2 separate regions of the Homo sapiens genome follow, and region 2 is linked to region 1. The links are contacts of gene promoters, found by promoter capture Hi-C in blood cells and fetal thymus (Javierre and others, 2016). All regions are on one chromosome and are shown on one strand. Each heading gives the region's core, a stretch centred on a gene start or on the middle of the fragment in contact. The rest is flanking DNA. Distances are from core to core; before and after follow the strand shown.

Evidence for each region. Contacts are between HindIII fragments. The CHiCAGO score rates a contact against its expected background, and 5 or more counts as called.
Region 2: a fragment that was not itself captured here is called in contact with the fragment with the promoter of PIM1 in region 1 in 17 of 17 cell types (activated CD4 T cells, naive CD8 T cells, total CD8 T cells and 14 more); the score reaches 18.3 in activated CD4 T cells.

What each region holds. Positions count from the first base shown.
Region 1 is chr6:37,168,078-37,173,056 of GRCh38, reverse strand. It overlaps PIM1 (Pim-1 proto-oncogene, serine/threonine kinase), which reads right to left and starts at 2,905. Exons shown (of 6, transcript NM_002648.4): 1 at 2,400-2,905; 2 at 2,178-2,284; 3 at 2,026-2,076; 4 at 1,566-1,932; 5 at 1-61. The coding sequence starts at 2,481. RefSeq lists silencers at 788-887, 2,077-2,396, 2,657-3,436 and enhancers at 547-1,140, 3,062-3,660. The HindIII fragment of the contact is 5,698 bases long and covers 1-4,611 here.
Region 2 is chr6:37,011,978-37,016,956 of GRCh38, reverse strand. It overlaps FGD2 (FYVE, RhoGEF and PH domain containing 2), which reads right to left. Exons shown (of 16, transcript NM_173558.4): 5 at 3,192-3,348; 6 at 2,857-2,995; 7 at 2,253-2,311; 8 at 1,919-2,065; 9 at 1,097-1,189. Among named protein-coding and RNA genes, the nearest start is that of FGD2, 8.8 kb to the right of the region's middle. RefSeq lists enhancers at 2,439-3,156, 4,587-4,979. The HindIII fragment of the contact is 6,835 bases long and covers 1-4,979 here.

The DNA.
Region 1 (4,979 bases), core at 1,656-4,155:
GCCGACCTGCCATGGTAGCGATGGTAGCGGATCCACTCTGGAGGGCTATACACTCGGGTCCCTGTGAGCCAAGGGAATAGAAGAGAAAACACACTTTTAGCAAAAACAAGCACAAAGAAGCTGGGTGGTATATATAACTCTTTCTTTTAAAAAAAAAAAAAATCCCTTCTCTCAGGAGCTAGGTGAACTCCATTTTTCCCTCTGGGCTAAGGAGAGTGGAGGCGCACCTTACGGCATCTCTCCAACCCAAAGCATTACCCACCTCTCTGCTAGCCCAAACCATAAACTGAAATTCTTTATGAACTGCTCCAAGAAACAAACACAGCTGGCCGCAGACCCAAAACTTGAGGCCCTGTGAGGCAGGACCGCCTGCGAAGGATGAAGGGATGCATGTCTGCACAACCAAGAAAGGTATCTCATAGACTATCCTTAAATTGCATTCACCACTGCCCAGGAGCCCGGGTGAGATTCTCATGGCCGACAGGATCCAAGCAAGGATGCTTGCACAACATCCTAAGTCAGGGTGCCCTTTGGGAGGCCTTCCTCCCCACCCGATGCAAGCAGGAGCAGACACCCACACCCTTTCCTCCCTAGACTGGAAAGGTAGACAGAGCTGCAGGGTTGGTTTCAGACCACGTGATTCCTGTTTACAAACTTTGGGTAGTAAAAGAAAAAGGAGGGGCCATGCCGCTGGTGCTCACCAGGGGGCAGCAAAGACTTGAAAGAAAAAACATGGGAGGACCCGGCCAGCCATTAACTGTTAAATACAAAAAATGCAGCCCAACCCAGCGTCCTCCAAGGGCAAATAAACATAAACCACAAGCCCGAGTCACAAGTTTTGAAAGGCTGTCGTTTGTTAGGTTAAGCCGCTCAGATGATGACCCACCCTCCGCAGCTTTGATCTCAGGCTCTCCATTCCTTCTTTTCTGAAAGAACCCGCTCCAAGCCCCTCCCTAGGATAGGTTTTCATCCTCTCTGCGGAGACACCCAACTAATTTTCAAACCAGCGACAGATCTTATTTCACAACATTCATTCCTGACTCTCTCTCCCCTTAACACTAAAGAAAAAAAAAAGCCACCAGTAATAATATAGTTCCTATTCCTTAACCTTCCCTAGATCAGAAAGGAGTTAAGAACTGCAGCTCTAAAACTACCATACAGAAAACTAACTCCCTTATAAAATAAAACAAAAATTACAAAACCGGCATCAATTTCCACCTCTTCCCCCGCCCCCATCCTTTTACTGGCGGGGAAACTGGGTCAGACTTTAGAAAAATCTGGGCTACCGCCGGTTGCCCACAACCTCTTATTCATCGGGAAAGCCTGGAACTAACTGAATTCCACTTGAAGAATAAAATCATGCCAGAAACATTACAGGTTCAGCTGGCTGAAAATCCCCGGCTTTACTACGCTGGGAGGCTCTCCTGCGTCCCACCCCGGCTAGCATCGAGCCAGGCGGCCCAATGACCTTTACAAAAGGCTGGCGCGGGAGACTGGCCGAGGCCTCCGGACTGGGCCGGGCCGGGCCGAGTCACCTGGGCAGCTCCCTCCCGGGCCTGGCTCACCATCGAAGTCCGTGTAGACGGTGTCCTTGAGCAGCGCCCCCGACCCGAAGTCGATGAGCTTGAGCTCGCCGCGATTGAGGTCGATAAGGATGTTTTCGTCCTTGATGTCGCGGTGGAGCACCCCGCAGTTGTGGCAGTGCCGCACGGCCTCCAGCACCTGCCAGAAGAAGCTGCGGGCCAGCTCCTCTTGCAGGGCTCCCCTTTCCGTGATGAAGTCGAAGAGATCTTGCACCGGCTCGGGCCTCTCCAGGATCAGGACGAAACTGTCGGGCCTCTCGAACCAGTCCAGGAGCCTAATGACGCCGGAGAAACCCGAGCTCACCTTCTTCAGCAGGACCACTTCCATGGGCACTCGAGTGCCATTAGGCTGCAGGGGCGAGGGGGCCGCGTTAGGGCGGGAGTCGGGGGCGCCCCTCACCCCACCCACTCATCCTGGGGGTCGCTCCTGCAGGGCACTCACCAGCTCTCCCCAGTCGGAAATCCGGTCCTTCTCCACGTGTTTGATGGCCACCTGGAAGCCCAGGGTCTCCGTCAGGTTCCCTCGTCCGGGCTAAAGCACGCCCGTGCGCCCCCCGCCCGGCGCGCCCTCCCCACCGCGGGGCGCCCACTCACCGGCAAGTTGTCGGAGACGCGGATGCCTGAGTAGACCGAGCCGAAGCCGCCGCTGCCCAGTAGCGGGCCCACCTGGTACTGCGACTCCAGGGGCTCCTTCTCCTTGCCTAGGAAAGGGGGAAGCACGGGGACTCAGTGCCGGCCCGCGAGCCGCCAGCTCCCCACCCAGGAGATCCCGCCGCCGCCCCGCATCCCCGGGCCGGAGGCGGGGGGTGCTCTCACCGGGCGCCAGCTTGGTGGCGTGCAGGTCGTTGCAGGGCGCGGCGCGCAGGTGGGCAAGCGAGTTGATTTTGGACAAGAGCATCCCAACCTCCAGGATGTCGGCGCAGGGACGGTGCCCAGAGGAGCTGCCGCAGGAGCCGGAGCCGGGGCTGTGCCGAAGGCTATGCCTGGGGCTGTGGCTGTGGCTGTGGCTGCGGGTGGCGTTGCGGCTGTGGCTGCGGCTGGCGCGGAAGGCCGAGGGCGAGTCGGAGGACAACTGAGGGCGCTGCCGGGACTGGCGGCGGGAGGGCGCGCCAGCGGGGTCGGGCAGCGCTGAGAACGGCGGGGTGAGCGGCTCGTGGGGCTCGTGCGGCAGCGCCGCGGGGCAGGAGGCTAGTGGTTGCTGCTGCTGCTGCTGCTGCTGCTGCTGCCGGTCCCGCCGCCGCCGCTGCCACCGACTCCTCTCGGGCCTCCTCAGCCACCGCGGCCGCTGCAGCAGACGCCCGGCTCGCCCCGCAGCCAGGAGTAAAGGGGAGGAGCGCGCCGGCGGGGAGGGCGCGCGGGGAGGGCGCGGCGGGCGGGGACGGGGCGGGGCCTCTCCGGGAGGCCAAGGCGGGGAGCAGGGCTGCCGGGCCGGCCGAGGGAGGAGAGGGGGTGGGGAAGCGGCGGGACTGGGCGACTCCCCTCGGCCCCCGCCCCGCGCGCTCTGTGGCCGCGCCCCGGCCCCGCCCCTGCCAGCGCTACTCCAGCCAACCAGAGGCCGATTGATCTGCATAACTCGGCGCGCCCCGCCCCCGCCCCGCCCAGCTCTCGCGGTCAGAATGGTCTCTACGCCGCCACGACGTGGCGGGAAGGAAAAGGCGCCAAAATGGAGGGGGAGGGGCGCGGGGCGTGAGGGGAGGCGGGAGCTGGGTGTAGGGCCGCGAGGGAGGAAGGATGGGGAGGGGCGTATCGATTCAAACCCAAACAATAACAAAGCCATCAAAGGCCGCCCGAGGCCGGCTCTGCGGCTCTCCGTTTCGCTGAGGGTTTTGGGTCAAGGGCTCGAGCCGGAGCATAACAAGTTGCGCGGAGACGACGGGCGTTAGTGTGTCAGGCGGGGAGGCCGGCGCGCCGGGTGTCGGACTGTGTGTGGGGATGCCGACGAGGGTGGTCTTTCTGTGTGACTCAGACCCGAGACCTCCAAGTCGGCTGGGGCGGGCTGACGTCGCGCTGTAGGCTGGGGGCGGATTCTGGGGGTTTGTGTGTTGGGGGGCGCGTCGGGGGCGAAGGATCCGCAGGACATGAGTCACGGAGGGAGTGGAGGAGTCAGGCCTGGAACAGAACTGGAGGCGGGAGCCCCGCTCCTGCGGGAAAGGGATGCAGCCCTCAGTCGTTCCGGCCGGCTAAAAGCTCAGCCACGGGATTCCCATTTTAGAAATGCAAAAGCACCAGCGAATCCTGATTTCTGGGAAGGGATGTGTGTCAAAGGGCCGGGTAAAGAGGAAATCACGAAGCAAATGTTAGTGTTGTGATGCCAGATGCTGCCTCAGCCCCTTCTGTGAGGGCGGAAAATTCCTCATCTAAAACGAGGGTGGGAGGGTGCGCTTGATTTAACCAGTTTTCACGTTGTAGTCACCTTTTCATCAGCCTGTTATTACCAGGCAGGCAATACCAGCAATTATTGGCCAACCCCAAGTCTTGTCTCAAAGGAAACCCCCCACCCTCTGCCTCCCTTGGAAATAACCCGGAACACTGACCAATTCCACTTGCATCCTTTGTCCTTTTAAACTTCATGTAGAGTTGATAACGACGTGTGAAATGAGTAAATTAAAATACTATATAATCCATAAATTGAATTGTCAGTGGCCTAAGTAATTGAAAGCTAACTACATTCTATTTTAATTTTTTGAAGTGCCTGCCATTTAAAGGAAAAATCAGGATCCCTATAGCTGTCATTAGTGAATTTAAATGTTTCCTTTGAAAGTTTTCTACAGTGCTTGCTTTATAAAAGTGCCCAGATCCTCCACAACTTTTATGAATTTATCCTACAAAATATTACATATTTTCCTTTTGTTTGTGTACTGTGGCCGAACTCATTCATTTTTTATGACTAGGAGAAAACCCAAGGGAACAAGAATTACTCCCTTTTTGCAGATAGGAAAATGAAACATAAATAGGATGGCACAGGGTCATACAGCAGCTAAGAGAGGAGATGAAATGACCCAAATTCACCTCCTGAGTATTCAAAGCTTTCCGCTTATCAGGGTCTAAAACTGTCCTTGGCACCGAACAAGACATCATTAAACATATGTGATTCCCACTTCCATCCCTTCTACCCTCCCTTTCCTTTCTCAAACCCTCAAATGTAGTCAAACAGAACTATTCCCACTTGTTCCCACTCGCCTAGCACTTTACAGACCCTTTGCCTTTGCGGAAGCAATCAACCTGTCCTGGGAGAGCCCTCTCTACCTCTCCACTTTTATTCAAAGCCTTTCCACTCTTTAGGAAACAATTGTAGTTCTACCACAGATTGATGAACAAACTCAGAGCATTGGTTCACTGTCCACTAATCTGACAGTTGGGATTTGTTTTTTTAAATCCTTTTTGTTCATTTACTTT
Region 2 (4,979 bases), core at 1,544-4,043, 160 kb after region 1:
GGGATAGAGTCGGGCGGAGACTTTCATTGTATATATTTTTTATATTGTTTGACTTTAGAATGTGTATAATCTGTATTTTTTAAGTAGTAAAATTAAAATATTTTTAAAAGATAAAAAACAGGCTGGGTGTGGTGGCTCATGCCTGTAATCCCAGCACTTTAGGAGGCCAAGCCAGGTGAATCACTTGAGGTCAGGAGTTTGAGACCAGCCTGGGCAACATGGTGAAACCCCATCTCTCCTACCAAAAATACAAAAATTGGCCGGGCATGGGGGCTCGCGCCTACAGTCCCAGCTACTTGGGAGGCTGAGGCAGGAGAATTGCTCGAACCCAGGAGGTGGAGGTTGCAGTGAGCCGAGATTTTGCTGTTGCACTCCAGCCTGGGCAACAGAGTGAGACTCGGTCTCAAAAAAAAAAAAAAAAATCCAGAAGATTCTAACAGCCCCTGCATCATGGGGCTGTTAGGAGGATCTTGTGGTCCCCCCATGGGCTCCATCATGGACTACTGGCCCTGCTCATTTGCCATAATCTCTGGATGAGGTAGATGGGGACACACACAAGCCAGCCGCTGAGCTGACACTGGAGACCTTTCCTACTCAAAACGTGTTCTGTGCTCCTACAGTATCAGCATACACTGCCCAGGATATGTCTCATTTCATTTAATTCTCACAATCCTGCAGGTGGGGTCAGTTGTCAGCCCATCTTAACTGGGAGCTGGTTAGAAATGCAGGATCTCAGGCACCCCCCCACCCAGACCTCCTGATTCAGAACCTGCATTTTTACAAGATGCCCAGAGGATTCGCGCACACATGAAAGTTTTTGAAGCAGTGGTATAAACAGTAGGGAAAGCACAGAAAGGCCAAGCTGGCTCATGCACTGCCGCGAAGGGAGGGCCAAACCTGTGGGAAGCTGGGAAGGACAGGGCAGGAGGGCTAGGATCCCAGAGGGGAGAGCCCCACACTCTTCCATCTCCATGTTTGCCCAGGCCCTGCAAGGGTTTGGTTCTGTGATTGAGAACCTGGTTGGCCCCTCCTCTTACTCCCTGTACTCAGTCCTACCCTTGAGGTGGAGCCCAGTGGTGTTTAGGGGGCCTCTTACCTTCATCCCGGCCACATCGATGCGGGTCCTCACCTGGAACTGGGCGCCCACCTGGATCACCCTGGGCACACAGTAGAGCAGCATGTTGTTGAACTGCAGGAGACACAGGCGTGAGTGGCCCGTGGCAGGGGCAGGGAGGATGGCTAGGTGGGGTTTCCCCGAGGGTGGGCCGAGCATGGGCTGAGCACCACTGGACCCGCTCCCCTTTGAACACACTCTGGCCAGCCTGCTCACAGGACATCACAGGTGATGATGTAGGTGATGAGGAAGGGGCTGTCAAGCTCCCAATTCCCCTAGGATGGTTACTGAAGGGTCACCCTACAAGGGACCATAGCAGACCTCAGAAACCTACAAGGCCTTTCTCAACAGGGGCTCAGGATGGCAGGGGTTTACAAGAGGTTATATCTCTGTTCCCCAGACCTCCAGGCAGGACCACCTTTCCAGGTGTCAGGAGATCCCCCGGCTTCTTCCGTGCAAACCCAGGGCAGTTCTTCCTAGTAGCTAACCTTACTCCTTCCTGCTGTGCGCTCTCTAGAGCACAGATTAATATCACAGGCTTTGCAGTCAGACTGGGTTCAAACTCTGACTCTGTTGCTTCCTAGGACATGTCTGGGAAACCTGTGGGTTGGAAATCTCTGAGGCTTAGAGGCAGCAGGTGACCTGTCCAAAGTCATCTGGGTGCCAAAGCAGAAAAAGACAGAGAAGCGTTCTCTTCCCTGTCCCCCTGCAGTGCCAGGTAGAGGCCAGGCAGTATGACTCGGGCCAGAGTGGCCCATGGACTTCCCTCCCCAGTGTGGAGAGGAGCTCCCAGCACCCTCTTACCAAGAAAAGGTAGCGCTCCATGGGGTCGTTGCGGCGGAAGGAGATCTTGAGGACCGGGCCCTCACGGAGCAGGGTGTTAGAGGGGTCTACTATGTCGTCCTCGAGGCCCAGGCGCTGGTACACCTCCCACAGGTCCTGCAGCCGCTCCTAGGGGGTTGGGGTGCATCCTCAGCCAAGTCTGGGCAGGGCTCACCTGCTTCTGGAAGGCTTGCCTTGTGGGGACGGGGACTGGGGGGTAACAGTGAGGGCAGCAGTGGGATAGGTGTCATGGGTGGGACCAGGCTGAGACCTGCAGGGAGGGGGACAGGGCTCCAGGAGAGGGCGGGCTGCTTACCATCTCAGTGATGGCTGCATTGGAGTGCTGGGCAGCTGAGAAGATCATGTCCAGGGCTTCTGAAAGGGGCAGGGCCGGAGTTTATTCCCTGAGAATCTAGGGCTGGTGGCTGGGGCAGGAGGTCCTTGAAGTTCAACAAAGGGCCCTCAGGACCTGCCATGACAGCCCCCAGGAGCAGCCCTGCCTGTGCAGCCCAGCCATGGGGTGTCTGAATGGCGGGAGCCCCCCAGGGCTGAGAGACTGGAAGCCACTGAACGTTAGCCATTAGGTGTTTGGCTTTGGTGACTCTCACTGCTTCCCAAAACAAGCCAGACCTAGAGGGTATAATGGAAGGAGCATGGGCTTTGGTATCACATAGGCATGGGTTCAAATCCCAGTTCTGCTACTCTCTGGCTGCGTGACCTTGAGCAAGTCACTAAACCTCTCTGGGCCTTAGTGTCCTCATCTGTGAAAAATGGCTAATGGTATGGATGATGTCTATGAAGTGCCAGTGGTTGATGTTGATGACTGATGGTCGTCAAAACCATTTTAGCAGGAGCTCAGTAAGTATATGGGAATGGCTTAGGCCTCCTCAGCCCCCTGGGACCCCTGGGGGTGTCCTCACTCTGGGCATCGGCCTGGTCTGGGGCCTGGGCTGGCAGCTTCTGGATGTACTCCTTGAGCAGCAGCTCGTAACGTGGAATTCTCTGCACTGGTTCCAGCATGTGGTGCTGCAGGGTCAGGCTGCCCGAAGCCTCGCTGCTCTTGGGGAGGGATGGGGGAGCAACACGGAGAGGGTGAGAGAAGGGAGGTGGGTCAGGCTGCTCCTGAGGGCCGGACGAGTAGGCAGGGGCCTATGGAAGCAGCTGAGCCTGGGAGATGCCCGGAATCACTCAAGGCAACCTGAGCCACTGCATGCTGGGAGTGGCAATGCTGACTCCAGCCCTCCCCCAGCCTCACCTGGATGCGAGTGAGAACCTCCTGGAAGAGTGGAGACTTGTCGGTCCAGGTGGCCAGCAGCTCAGCCGCTCGCTCAAAGTTCTTGACATACTCACTGTACATCTTCAGGAAGGGGGCCAGCTTCTGGATCACGTCACCGATGCGGGGGTTAGCTGTCCTGCAGGAGGGGCACAGGGATTGCCCTCAGCCTAGAGACCTCCTCTCGACTCTAGATAGGGCCAGGTGAGGCCAGGCTCCCTGAATCCCCCAAAGCAAACTTTCCACGGCAATTCTGGGTGTGGGCGGGGTACGGGGGTGTCATCCTCACATGCGCCCCTCTACTCCTTAGACTGTGAGCCTCCTGAGGCCAAAGGCTGTTCTGGTCCCAGGTTGGCCTCATCCACAAGGCCCGGCACAGTGTTGGGCCCACAGCAGGTGTTCAGTAACTGCTCAGTGCTTCATTATGTAACAATAACGAGGGCTACCTACCAAGCACTACCCAGGACATGATGCATGTCTCATTCCATGTAATTCTCACAACCCTGTAGGTGGGGGCAGCCACTAGCCCATCATAGAGGTGAGGAAGTGGAGGCTCAGAGGGGTACGAACTTCTCCAGGATTGGCCAGCCACAGTGGCTTACACCTGTACTCGCAGCACTCTGCAAGGCCTGAGGCAGGCAGGCAGGTTGAGCCCAGGAGTTCAAGACCAGCCTGAGCAGCATGGTGAAACCTCATTCCATGCCCCTCACACTGAAAAAAAATAATATATATACATATATATACACGTATATATATGTATACACACACACACACACACACACACAGAACTTTTCCAGGATCATCCCATGGCAGGGCCTGCTAGAGCAGAGCAGCAGGGAGCCATGGCCATGGCCTGGGAGTGAGGCTTCCTGAGCCTGACTCCTGGGATGCACAAATCATGCTAGCTGTGTTCCCAGGTAAGTCACTTAGCATCTTTGTACCCTGATTTTCTCATTGAAAAAAATTGGAATGATGGCAGGCGATCTCATAGGGTTATATCCTTCTCTTTTCTTTTCTTTCTTTTTTTTTTTTTTTTAAGTCAGGGTCTCTCTCTGTCACCCAGGCTGGAGTGCAGTGGCACAATCATGGCTCACTGCAGCCTCGACTTTCCGGGCTCCAGCAATCCTCCAACCTCAGCCTCCTGAGTAGCTGGGACTACAGGTGCCTGCTACCATGCCCGGCTAAGTTTTGTATTTTTGGTAGAGATGGGGTTTTACCATGTTGCCCAGAGTGGTCTCAAACTCTTAAGCTCAAGTGATCCACCCACCTTGGCCTCCCAAAGTGCTGGGATTACAGGCATGAGCCACCGAACCTGGCTATTATTATCTTAAAAAAAAACAACAGTTTATTATAAATGTTTTAAGCAATCAATACATCACTAGGTTTAACAATTACTAGCATTCTTCTTTGCCAAAGATCTTAAAGGACATCCTAGACTTCGTGGCAAACTATATAAGGCAAGTAACTTCACTGTTAAATGCTTTAGTGGCCATCTGTGAAAACAAGAGGGTTTCTTGCATAACCATGATGCCGTCATCACACAGCAGGCTGATGTGAAGATTGAGGGAGTTAATAGAGGGAAAGCCCAAGGCCAGGCGTGTAGGAAGCCCTCAGTTGGCACTGGCTATTTTCACTGTCCCAAAGTCACTTGGTCACTTGGCTTGGCCAGGACCTGATCCACCCCTTTCCCCAGGAAGCAGTCTGCACACACACAGCCTCTCAGAGCTCATTCACCCAAGCCCTTCACTGTGCAGACAGACCGAGCCCCAG